Regions from separate parts of the Homo sapiens genome. Here region 2 is linked to region 1. The links are contacts of gene promoters, found by promoter capture Hi-C in blood cells and fetal thymus (Javierre and others, 2016). All regions are on one chromosome and are shown on one strand. The core of a region is centred on a gene start or on the middle of the fragment in contact, and the rest is flanking DNA. Distances in the headings are between cores, read along the strand shown.

Region 1 (5,860 bases), core at 3,009-5,508:
ATCAGCCTGTCCAACATGGTGAAACCCCATCTCTACTAAAAATACAAAAACTAGCCGGGTGTGGTGGTGTGTGCCTGTAATCCCAGCTACCCTGGAGGCTGAGGCAGGGGGATTACTTGAACCCAGGAGGCGGAGGTTGCAGTGAGCCTAGATCGCGCCACTGCACTCCAGCCTGGGTGACAGAGCAAGACTCCGTCTTGCGGGGGGGAGGGTGGAAAAAGGTATACATCCCACTGCTTTTTCTTTTCTTATATTATTACTATGCAAGCGACACACTGCAGAAAAATTAATATACACAGATAAGACAGGGAGGCAGTACAGCAGAGAGGATGGGAGCACAGAGTTCAGAGCTACATGGGGCACTGACTTAGCTTCCTTGTGTCTCAGTTTCCTCGCGTAAAAAGTAAGTATAAGCTGGTCATGGTGGCTCACGCCTATAATCTCAGCACTTTGGGAGGCCGAGATGGGAAGATCACTTGAGCCCAGGAGTTTGAGACCAGCCTGGGCAACATGGGGAGGCCCCCTCTTTAAAAAACAAAATAAAAAATAAAAAATTAGCCAAATGTGATGTTGCACACCTGTAGTCCCAGCTACTCAGGAGGCTGAGGTGGGAGGATCGCTTGAGCCGAGGAGGGCAAGGCTGCAGCGAGCTATGACTGCAACACTGAACTCCAACCTGGGTGACAGAAAGAGTCCCTGTCTCTGCCTGCCCCCGCCAAAAAGTAAGCATAATGAGAATTTTTTTTTTTTTTGAGATGGAGTCTTGCTCTGTTGCCCATGCTGGAGTACAGTGGCACGATCTCAGCTCACTGCAACCTCCACCTCCCAGGTTCAAGTGATTCTCATGCCTCAGCCTCCTGAACAGCTGGGACTACAGGTGTGCACCACCAAGCCCAGCTAATTTTTGTATTTTTAGTAGAGATGGGGTTTCACCATATTGGCCAGGCTGATCTCGAACTTCTGACCTCGTAATCCACCTGCCTCGGCCTCCCACAGTGCTGGGATTCCAGGCGTGAACCACCGCACCCAGCCAGCATAATGATCATCGCCAATTAACAGGCACTCAGCACATGGTATGTGCTCTGTTAGTGTTTGCTATTGTTATTACTGGCATGTAATGATAGAAAAAAGAAATAAAGGAAAAAAGTTTACCTATAGTTCTATGAGCCTGAGATAAGTACACTGTTAAGCCTTTGAGATATAGCCTTCCACACTTTCACTATATGAACATACTTTATAAATATGGCCAGTTCCACAATGTGGTCTAAAATATGATCATAACTCTAATTTTCCCAATTAATTGTTCATGCTTGTGTATGCCTTATTATTATTGTTATTATTTTAGACGGAGTCTCGCTCTGTCTCCCAGGCTGGCGTGCAATGTCGCAATCTTGCCCCATTGCAACCTCTACCTCCCAGGTTCAAGCAATTCTCCTGCTTCAGCCTCCGAAGTAGCTGGGACTACAGGCATGTGCCACCATGCCCGGCTAATTTTTGTATTTTTAGTAGAGGCGTGGTTTAGTAGAGGCTGGTCTCGAACTCCTGACCTCGTGTTTCACCCTCCTTGGCCTCCCAAAGTGCTGGGATTACAGGTGTGAGCCACCACGCCGGGCCTGTGTATGCCTTATTAAAAAGAAATCCAGGGCCAGGTGTGGTGGCTCACGCCTGTAATCCCAGCGTTTTGAGAGGTCGAGGCAGGTGGATCGCTTGAGCCCAGGAGATGGAGGCTGCAGTGAGCTGTGATGACTGCTACTGCACTCCAGCCTGGTTGATAGAGTGAGACCCTGTCTCAAAAAAACAAAAACCATTCAGGATCTTGAGACCACCCTGTATCACCCAGAAACTTTTGAGAGCCTACACCATGCGGGGCATAGGTCATGACTGCTATTTCCCATCATGACCACATGGTGTCGCCATTGAAACCTGGTTGTAACCAGTCCCCAGGACTTGGTGGTAACGATGCTTTTTGAAATCGTGCTAACCTCAGCGAGAAGGGTTCTAGGCTTGAGATGTCAAGCTTGCTGTTCTCAGGGTTCAGTGGCTGTATTTCCTGCACACTTTCCACCATCTAGGGTGACTCCTAGCTCCAGGAGGCCTGGGTTAGGACAGCTTCTGACATCTGCCACCTTCTAGATCTAGAACCTAAAATTTTCCCTTCCTCTTTGGGAATCCATACCAGGAGCTCGTTTCAGCCCTGCAAGCATCAAGGCTGAGAGGTGGTTAGCCATCTGCGAAGACATGGTCTGCTTATCCCGTGGCCACTTTCTTTTTTTTTTTTTTTTTCGAGACGAAGTCTTGCTCTTGTCTCCCCAGGCTGGAGTGCAGTGGCACAATCTCGGCTCACTGCAACCTCTGCCTCCTGGGTTCAAGCGATTCTCTTGCCTCAGCCTCCCGAGTAGCTGAGATTACTGGCGCCTGCCACCACGTCTGGCTAATTTTTGTATTTTTAGTAGAGACAGGGTTTCACCATGTTGGCCAGGCTGGTCTCAAACTCCTGACCTCAAGTGATCCGCCCGCCTCAGCCTCCTAAAGTGCTGGGATTATAGGCATGAGCCACTGCGCCCGGCTACCCTGTGGCCCCTTTCTTTCCCATTCTTCCTCAGAGACAGAGGCAGACTTCCCTGGCACCCACCTTCCCAGCTTCTCCTGCAGACGTGGCACCGACATGTGACTCAACCTGGCCAGTGGGCTGTGAGGGAGCACCAGCAGGGGAATTTCTAGGGCAGATTTTCCTCCCTAATAAATACACATGAACACATTTCAGGATGAATCTCCTACCTTCTTATATGTGAGACGACAAGCCTCAAGATGGAGACTGTGGTAGCCAGCCTGCAAGAAGATCTCGTGGCAGGGCGTGGTGGCTCAGGCTGGTAATCCCAGCACTTTGGGAGGCTGAAACGGGTGTATCACCTGAGGTCAGGTGTTCGAGACCAGCCTGGCCAACATGGAGAAACCCTGTCTCTACTAAAAATACAAAAATTAGCCGGGCGTGGTGGCAAGTGCCTGTAATCCCAGCTACTTCTGGGAGGCTGAGGCAGGAGAATTGCTTGAACCTGGGAGGCAGAGGTTGCAGTGAGCTGAGATTGCACCACTGCATTCCAGCTTGGGCGACAAGAGCAAAACGACATCTCAAAAACAAAGCAAAACAAAAAAAAAATTGGCTTGAATAAAATACATAAATCTTCTTTTTTTAAAAAAGATCTCCCGCAAGCTTTCCCTCCTGGTATTCATGCCCTTCCACATGGAGGGGCAGCAGAGAGTATGGGAACACAGAGCATAGACTGGCCTGTGTGGCCAATGGAATGCAGCTGAGTACAGACCTAGGAGTCCAGGTCAGGAAAGATGCAGGCCAGACGCAGTGGCTCACGCCTGTAATCCCAGCACTTTGAGAGGCCGAGGCAGCTGGATCACCTGAGGTCAGGAGTTCAAGACCAGCCTGGCCAACATGGTAAAACGCTGTCTCTACTAAAAATACAAAAACTAGCTGGGCGTCGTGGCATGCGCCTGTAATCCCAGTGACTCAGGAGGCTGAGGTGGGAGAATCGCTTGAACCCAAGAGATGGAGGTTGCAGCGAGTGGAGATTGTGCCAGTGCACTACGTCCTGGGTGACAGAGCAAGACTCTGTCTCAAAAAAAAAAAAAAAAAAAAAAAAGATGTTGCAGTTTCTGCCTTGGTCCCTAATGTATTGTTCCCCCTGCAGGAAACTAGCCACCATACCGTGAGGATGCTCAAGCAGTCCTGTGGAGGGACCCATCTAGACAGGAGCCAACAGGCAGCACCAACTTGCCTGCCACGTGAGTGAGGCCCCTTGGAAACAGAGCTCCCAGCCCCAGTTAAGACTTTAGGGGACTGCAGCCCTTCACGGCAACAAGAGACCCTGAGCCATAGTCCTGCATCTCAGCTGCTCCCAAATTCCTGACCACTGAAAAATGCAAGAGATAAATGACTACTGTTGTTTAAAGCCATGAGTTCTGGGGGGATTTGTTTTATAGCAATTAATTAAGTAATCAAAGGCCAACACTATAAAGATTTCAGGGGGGAAAGATGAAAAACACTGAGTTTTTTATGATGTCATGGAGCCACTGAGTTAATCAACCCTGAAACTGCCTACTTCTTGATTTGCAGTGCAAGAGAACGAATGAATGTCCTGGTTTGGCTGCTGTTACTTCTGCTGTTACTTGCGGACAAAAGCATCCTTATTGATTCATCACATAAAAGATGACTCCCTGGGGATTTCTGAAGAGTGATTCCTGGCCGGGCTCGGTGGCTCATGCCTATAATCCCAGCACTTTGGGAGGCCGAGGTGGGTGGATTACAAGGTCAGGAGATCTAGACCATCCTGGCTAACACAGTGAAACCCCGTCTCTACTAAAAATACAAAAAATTAGCTGGGTGTGGTGGCAGGTGCCTGTAGTCCCAGCTACTCAGGAGGCTGAGGCAGGAGAATGGCGTGAACCCGGGAGGTGGAGCTTGCAATGAGCCGAGACTGCACCACTGCACTCCAGCCTGGGTGACACAGGGAGACTCCATTTCAAAAAAAAAAAAAAGTGATTCCTGAGTGACTTCCTGTGACCTTCTTTTTTTTTTTTTTTTTGATTAAGGGTCTTGCTCTGTCACTGAGGCTGGAGTACAGTGATGCAATCACAGCTCGCTACAGCCTCAACCTCCTTGGCTCAAGCAATCCTGCAATCCTCCTGCCTCAACCTCCTGAGTAGCTGGGACTACAGGCACACCACCACCATGCCTGTCTAATTTTTTTTTTTTTTTTTGCAGCGATGGGGGCCTGTTGCCCAGGCTGGTCTCAAACTCCTGGGTTCAAACAATCCTCTCACCTTGGCCTCCCAAACTGTTGGAATTACAGGTGTGAACCACTGTGCCCAGCCTGTCACCTCCTATTCTGTGAGGCTGGACATTTCTTTTGTTAAAAAAAGGACATAAATTTAAACTCTGATGGGAGCCACTCTGGAAGGGTCTCCACTAAAAATCATCTCAAATGAGCTTTTTTTTTTTTTTTTTGAGATGGAGTTTTGCTCTTGTTGCCCAGGCTGGAGTGCAGTGGTGCGATCTTGGCTCACTGCAACCTCTGCCTACTGGGTTCAAGGGATTCTCCTGCCTCAGTCACCCAAGTAGCTGGGATTACAGGCACCACCACCATGCCCGGCTAATTTTTTTGTATTTTTAGTAGAGACGGGGTTTCACCATGTTGGCCAGGCTGGTCTCTATCTCCTGACCTCAGGTGATCTGCCCGCCCTGGCCTCCCAAAGTGCTGGGATTACAGGTGTGAGCCACCACGCCTGGCCCCCAATAAGCTTCTGTATCAGAATTCACGAGAAAAAGCAGCCAAATAAGCTATGACTGGCCAGTTCACAAGTTTGTCTTTGATGTGTTTTATTATTTTTATCTGAATGGAATTATCCTGGACATGGATTTTGTAGGCTCTTGTTTATTTTTCACCATCAAATTCTGAACGTCTTTCAGATCAACATAGACTAACATCATGTACAGGGCTGTCTGGTGCCCCATTGTAGGGAGGTACCATGATTTATTTATTAATTTAATTTTTTTTTTTTTGAGATGGAGTTTCGCTCTTGTTGCCCAGGCTGGAGTGCAATGGCAGGATCTCAGCTCACTGCAACCTCCGCCTCCAGGGTTCAAGCGATTCTCCTGCCTCAACCTCCCAAATAACTGGGATTACAGGCATGTGCCACCACGCCCGGCTAATTTTGTATTTTTAGTAGAGACGGGGTTTCTCTATGTTGGCCAGGATGGTCTCGAACTCCTGACTTCAGGTGATCCGCTTGCTTCGGCCTCCCAAGGTGCTGGGATTACAGGCATGAGCCACGGCGCCTGGCCTGGAGG
Region 2 (6,425 bases), core at 108-2,607, 220 kb after region 1:
AGGTCTGCAGCAGAGGTGGCGAGGCCGCTGGAGGTTTGAAATGGCTTTTAAAATAGAGAAACCGGGAGGACCGACGACCGCTCCGGCGACCGCAGTTTCCAGGCACCAGAGCTGTGTGGAATGAGGGGCGCTCAGGAGCATCCCCTTAATTCCAAGGAGATCGAGTAGCGGGAACATTTATTGAGCCTTTACTGTGTGTCACCAACTGCCCACCATAGGGAGGAAAAAAGGGAGGAGGGAGCGCGCCTTTCCACCTTCCGTGCCCCGTCCCCTCACCATGGAGTCGCGGGGCCACCTGCTCCGTGCGCATTTTCTCTCTTCCTGGCTCCCTTTGCCCCGCTTTCTCGGAAGCTCGGAGCAAGGGCGTGGAGTGCGGGGAGCAGGGCTCCGCAGGTTCAAGAGGACGCGGGCGGTCGGGGGCGGGACGGATATTGGGCAGGGACGCGGGAGATGCTCAGGGTCTAGAACTGACTGCGCCGGATTCTTGTTTAGAGGGAGGTGAAGAGAGGAAGGAGGCGCGGGTGACACCGGGGGAGGCAGGAGGAGAGGGCTGGGAGGTGGGGAGAGGGGAGGACCTCATCCGGGCATGTTGCTTTGACGTTCCCTGAGACAGACATCCGGATTTGGGGATCTGGGAGAGAGCTAGAGCAGTGATGGGAATTTGGGCTTTCGCGGAAGAAAAAAAGTTAACAGGACCGGGTAGAACACCCGGTAGATGTGACATGAGATATGACGGGAGGTGGGTCGGGAAATCGAGAGCGTTCTCCTGTCTTGACTCCCCATCCCTTCCCTCTCACCACCCACTCCACCCCAGGTGATAAAGCCTGAAAGGTAGAGATCCAACAGCGCTAGCGGTTGAAACGGTTTTTAAAATAGAGAAAGCGAGAGGACCGACGGCGGCTCCAGTGACTGCTGAGTTTCCAGACAAGGGAGCTTTGTGCAATGAGGGGCGCACAGGAGCATGCCCTCAATTCCAAGGAGATCGGGTAGCGGCAACATTTATTGAGCGCTTACTGTGTGCCACCGACTGCCCTAAAGCCCCCCACCCCCGTGGCCTCCGCGCGCTTTGAGCCCAATGCGCGGGCCCTTGGCAAAGAGAATCGGCCAGAGGCCAACGGGGGCGCATGTCCTCCCCGGTATTTGACTGACTCGGAGCCAGGGGCGCAGCCCACCCCGCCCGGCTCTGGGGAGCTCACCTTGCCCCGTGCGGGCCACAGTCGCTTCCCGAGCGCCGCCTCCCCGTGCTGGCCGACCAGCCACAGCTGCACCTGGTTGTTGGAACCGGCATAGAGCGAGGCCCCAGTGGACACGCGGATGCGGTAGAGACCCATCTTGCTCAAAGATGTTTCGCTCCTTCTGGTGGAGAAGGGTGGACGAGCTAAATAACCCAGCCTGAGACCCCGCCCTCTCGGAGGTCGCTTGGGGTCGGAATGTGGGTGGCAGGTCTCCAATCAACTCCGCCTACCGCTGGGGCCCCCAGCTCCAAGGAGCAGAGCTTCAAGGGGCAGAATTCAGCCCCAGTCCAAAAGGCGGTGTCCTGGCGAGAGCAGGGAGTGGAAACCACTATCTTGACGGGAGGGAGAAAAAGAAAAGGATTTGGACCGAAAACACGCAGGAAGAGGGAATCAACGCCTGGTACAGCAGGCAGGCGAGGTGGGGGTAGGAGTTATGCACGTGTGTACCACGGACTTTGGGCCAAGCCTGGGTGGCTGGGAAGCCAACCTCCATCTAAACGCACGCGTGCACACACACACACACGCAAGGACACGCGCGCGCACACACAAGCCTCACAAGTTGGATTGCAGGAGAGGGTGAAGTGGGCGAGGAGACCCAGTTTGCAGTGGCATTTGAGGAAGGTACATTCAGGCCACGGAATTCATTCGACCAGCTTTGCACACTTGCCTTCTCTGTGCCAGCCACTGGGACTCATTCCTTTTGAGCATAAAAGCCGCTGCCTCCCTGTTGCCTGCAGAATAAAAGTCCAAATGTTTCTGGCATTCAATGCCCTTGCTAACCTGACCTGCTCTCCTCACCTCTCATCCCACTGCACCCTGGCATCTCCTGTGCTGGAGCCATGTGTTCCCCGGAACCCCCCCTCCCCCCGCCGCCCCTGCTGTTCTCTCAAAGAACTCACTTCTGGGTTAGTCTGGTCATGCTTCTAAACCCTAATTCGTCTCCAGTTTCTTTTTGGGCTGGAGCCATGTGTTCCCCAGAACCCCACCTGCTGTTCTCTCAAAAGAACTTGCTCCTGGATTAGTCTATTCATCTATTCATGCTTCTAAACCCTAGTTCACCTCCGGTTTCTCAGGAAAGTCTTACCCGGTACTTTCACCCCCCACCACCCCACCAGAGTGAATTAGCTTTCCTTTTTTTTTTTTTTTTGAGATATAGAGTCTCACTCTGTCACCCTGGAATGCAGGGTGGAGTGCAATGGCACGATCTCGGCTCACGGCAACCTCTGCCTCCCGGGCTCAAGCAATTCTCTGCCTCAGCCTTCCGAGTAGCTGGGATTACAGGCGCCTGCCACCATGCCTGGATAATTTTTGTATTTTTAGTAGAGACGGGGTTTCTCCATGTTGGCCACGCTGGTCTTGAACTCCTGACCTTGTGATCCACCCACCTCAGTCTCCCAAAGTGCTGGAATTACAGGTGTGAGCCACGGCGCCCGGCCCAGCTTTCCTTTCTAACACTTTTCTCCTTGCGCACACTTCTACTGTTGCACAGTTAATACTGCAGTGTGAGCATTTGTATGTGTGTATCCCCCACTAATGTGAGCCCGTCCTAGGCAGGGACTACACACCCAGCAGGACTCTCACTTTTGTTTCCCCTGGAGACGGCACAGTGTCAGGGTTTGTGGGTGTCAATAAGTGTTTGCTGAAACACACTGAGCTGAAAAATTCATTATAAATGAATGCTTCCCTTGGGGGAGACAAAGGGAAACAAATTATCAGGCAATGTAAACAAAAGGGGAATACTAACATAAACTTCATGGCATGGATTACAATCAGCCTGGTAACACAAATGAAGTCCACGAAAATATGTCTGTGATGCATATTTTCTGGTTTGCTTGTTTTTTGTTTTTGGTGTTTTTTTTTTTAATGAGATGGAGTCTTGCTCTGTTGCCCGGGCTAGAGTACAGTGGTGTGATCTCGGCTCACTGCAACCTCCACCTGCCGGGTTCAAGCGATTCTCCTGCCTCAGCCTCCAGAGTAGCTGGGATTACAGGCACCCACCAACATGCCCGGCTACTTTTTGTATTTTCAGTCGAGATGGGGTTTCACCATGTTGGCCAGGCTGGTCTTGAACTCCTGACCTCAAGTGATCCACCTGCCTCGGCCTCCCCAAGTGCTGGGATTACAGCCATGAGCCATCATGTCCGGCCCTGCTTAATTGTTTACTGGGAAGTACATTCATGTGATTCAAAATTCAAAAGGTACAAAGTGATATTCACTAGTTTCTCCCTCCTCTTGGCCCCAAGCCACCCAGTTGCTCCACTCCCAGCAATCACAGTTACCAGTCTCTTCTGTGCACTAATATTACTGAGCAAATACACGCCTATCTTTGTCTTTTTCTGCACATTGTAGCATGCCTTATTCTGCATCTCGTTTTTCCATAGTGCAACAGGAGGTCATTCCATATCCATGCATAAAGAGCTTCCTTGTTCTTTGCTAAGGCTGCCATTTGCTGTAACGCCATAAATTCTACTAGTCTCTTGTAGTGGACACAGGTTATTAGTAATCTTTTGTAGCTATGAAAAAGTGCTGAAAGAAATAAACCTCGCATATACAGCATTTCTCGTATGAAAGTATCTCTGTAGAACAAAACCCTGGAGATAGAATTTCTGGACCAAAAGCATATCGAATTTAGGCAGAAACTGCTCAATTGCCCTCTGTAGAAAGTTGTACTGATTTAGACTCCCACCAGTGGACTGTGTATGAGAATGCCCATTCTTCCTCACTCTTGCCAATGGTGTGTTCATAACCTTACCTTAGCCAATCGGATAGGTGAAAAATGGTACCCTAGTTTTAATTTTAATTTGCATTACCCTTATTATGAGTAAAGTTGAGCTTTTTTTTTTTTTCTTTTTTTGAGAAGGAGTTTTGCTCTTGTCGCCCAGGCTGGAGTGCAGTGGCGCGATCTTGGCTCACTAAAACCTCTGCCTCCCGGGCTCAAGCAATTCTCCTGCCTTAGTCTCTCGAGTAGCTGGAATTACAGTCGCCTGCCACCATGCCCGGCTAATTTTTTGTATTTTTAGTAGAGATGGGTTTTCGCTATGTTGGCCAGGCTAGTCTCGAACTCCTGGCCTCATGTGATCAGCCTGCCTCAGCCTCCCAAAGTGCTGGGATTACAGGTGTGAGCCACCGTGCCCAACCAAAAGGTTTTTTTTATAAGTGAAATTCAGAAAAATCAAAATGTGGTGGGTAAAATTCATCTTCCATAGAAATGGCACAAACCCAGTAATTTTCTTGCAGATTAAAAGTGTGATTGAAGAGTTGGGAAGGCTTCCAAAAGTAATTCACAGTAACTTGTGGGTAGACTGAGTGAGGTTAGATTATGATGCAGTTGTGATGGGAGAGGAAAGACCCAGGCCATTTCTTCCCGTCTTGGATAGGGATATCTATGGTGGTTAGCCTATGCCTGTTCCAACATTGTATGTTGGGGGTGGGGTCAGATGACTTTCTCTTTAGTTTACAGGTCTTCAGAAGAAGAGGAGCCCAGGCACGGTGGCTCATGCCTGTAATCCCAGCACTTTGGGAGGTCGAGGTGGGAGAATCAGCTGAGTTCAGGAGTTCAAGACCAGCCTGACCAACATGGTGAAACCTCATCTCTACTAAAAATACAAAAAGTAGCCAGGCATGGTGGTGGACACCTGTAATCCCAGCTACTCAGGAGGCTGAGGCAGGAGAATCGCTTGAACCCCAGAGGCAGAGATTGCAGTGACCTGAGATCGTGCCACTGCACTCCAGCCTGGGCAACAGAGTGAAACTTCTTTAAAAAAGAAAAAAAAAAAGAAGAGGAGGAATTGTATTCTGGAAGTATACTTAAGGTAATACAGTTGAGAAATCTCATCTATACATGGACCTGATTTAGATGATGAAATTCTAGACTTTGAGCTGATGCTATAATGGGATTCGACTTTGGGGTAGCTTGAGAGGGAGCGAGTGTATTTTGCATGTGGAAGGAATGTAAATCACCAGAATTCAGAGGGCATGCTCGTGGTGGCCATTCTTTAAAACATCCCCCAGTGATTCCGACCTCCTGATATGCATGCCTTTCCATAGTCTCCTACATTGTGTCTGGGTTGGTCTGCAAAGCCAATGCAGTATGAAATGATGTGTGTGACTTCCAAAGCTAGGTCCTAAAAGACATTAGGGCTTTCCGTCTCCTCCCTCCCCACTCTCCCTCTTTCTTGTTCTGCTTTCTCTGAGAGAAATTAACTACTATGTCATGAGGTCACTCAAGAAACTCTATGGAGAGGTCCACGTGGCAAGGAACTGAGCCCTCCTGCTACGAGCCAGTGAGGAACTGAACCCTCCAACTACCAACCACGTGGGGCAGCCATCTTGGAAACAGATCCTCCTGCCCCGGTTAAGACTTCAGATGACTACAGCCAATCTCTTGACTGAAACCTCATAAGACTCTTGAACTAGAACCAACTGACTCCCAAAACTGTGTAAGGTAATGGGTGTTTTTTGTTTTGTTTTGTTTTTGAGACAGGGTCTTGCTCTGTCACTCAAGCTGGAGTGCAGTGGCATGGTCACAGCTGACTGTAGCCTCCACCTCCCAGGCTCAAGTGATCTTCCCACCTCAGCTTCCCAAGTAGCTGGGACCACAGGCATGTGCCATCACACCACTGAGTTTTGAGGTCGTTGTAAAGCAGAAATAGATAACTAATACGGTCTGCATGCTTATTTTCTGAATCCTCAAACTCCCAAGCTTATGTAAAGCCAAAAAATATTCAATGAACTGACCACTTTCAAAATTAGTTCACTCACCTCTTCCTCCTTTTTTTTTTTTGTGGCTTTTGTTTTTTTGTGTTTGTTTGTTTGTTTGTTTTTGACCCAGAGTCTCGCTCTGTCACCCAGGCTGGAGTGCAATGGTGCGATTTCGGCTCACTGCAACCTCCACCTCCCAGGTTCAAGCAATTCTCCTGCCTCAGTCTCCCGAGTAGCTGGGAAAACAGGCGCTTGCCGCTATGCCTGGATGATTTTTTGTATTTTTGATAGAGACAGGGTTTCACTGTGTTGCCCAGGCTGGTGTCAAACTCCTGAGCTCAGGTGATCGGCCCGCCTCGGCCTCCCAAAGTGCTGGGATTACAGGCGTGAGCCACTGCACCCGGTTCTTCCTGCTTTATTAATGCCAGCTACCTTTGTCCATCTAACTGGCTACAGAGTGAAATTTCAAGTCTTGAAACATTAGAAGAC

The links. Contacts are between HindIII fragments. The CHiCAGO score rates a contact against its expected background, and 5 or more counts as called.
Region 2: the fragment with the promoter of ALOX15 here is called in contact with a fragment that was not itself captured in region 1 in 7 of 17 cell types (naive CD8 T cells, naive CD4 T cells, total CD4 T cells and 4 more); the score reaches 12.7 in naive CD8 T cells.

The regions. Positions count from the first base shown.
Region 1 is chr17:4,418,882-4,424,741 of GRCh38, forward strand. No RefSeq gene overlaps it. Among named protein-coding and RNA genes, the nearest start is that of SPNS3, 12 kb to the right of the region's middle. RefSeq lists a silencer at 1,809-2,008. The HindIII fragment of the contact is 2,099 bases long and covers 3,210-5,308 here.
Region 2 is chr17:4,640,321-4,646,745 of GRCh38, forward strand. It overlaps ALOX15 (arachidonate 15-lipoxygenase), which reads right to left and starts at 1,358. Exons shown (of 14, transcript NM_001140.5): 1 at 1,197-1,358. The coding sequence starts at 1,331. It overlaps LOC105371499 (a long non-coding RNA gene), which reads left to right and starts at 4,689. Exons shown (of 3, transcript XR_001752768.2): 1 at 4,689-5,679. The HindIII fragment of the contact is 20,783 bases long and covers 1-5,935 here.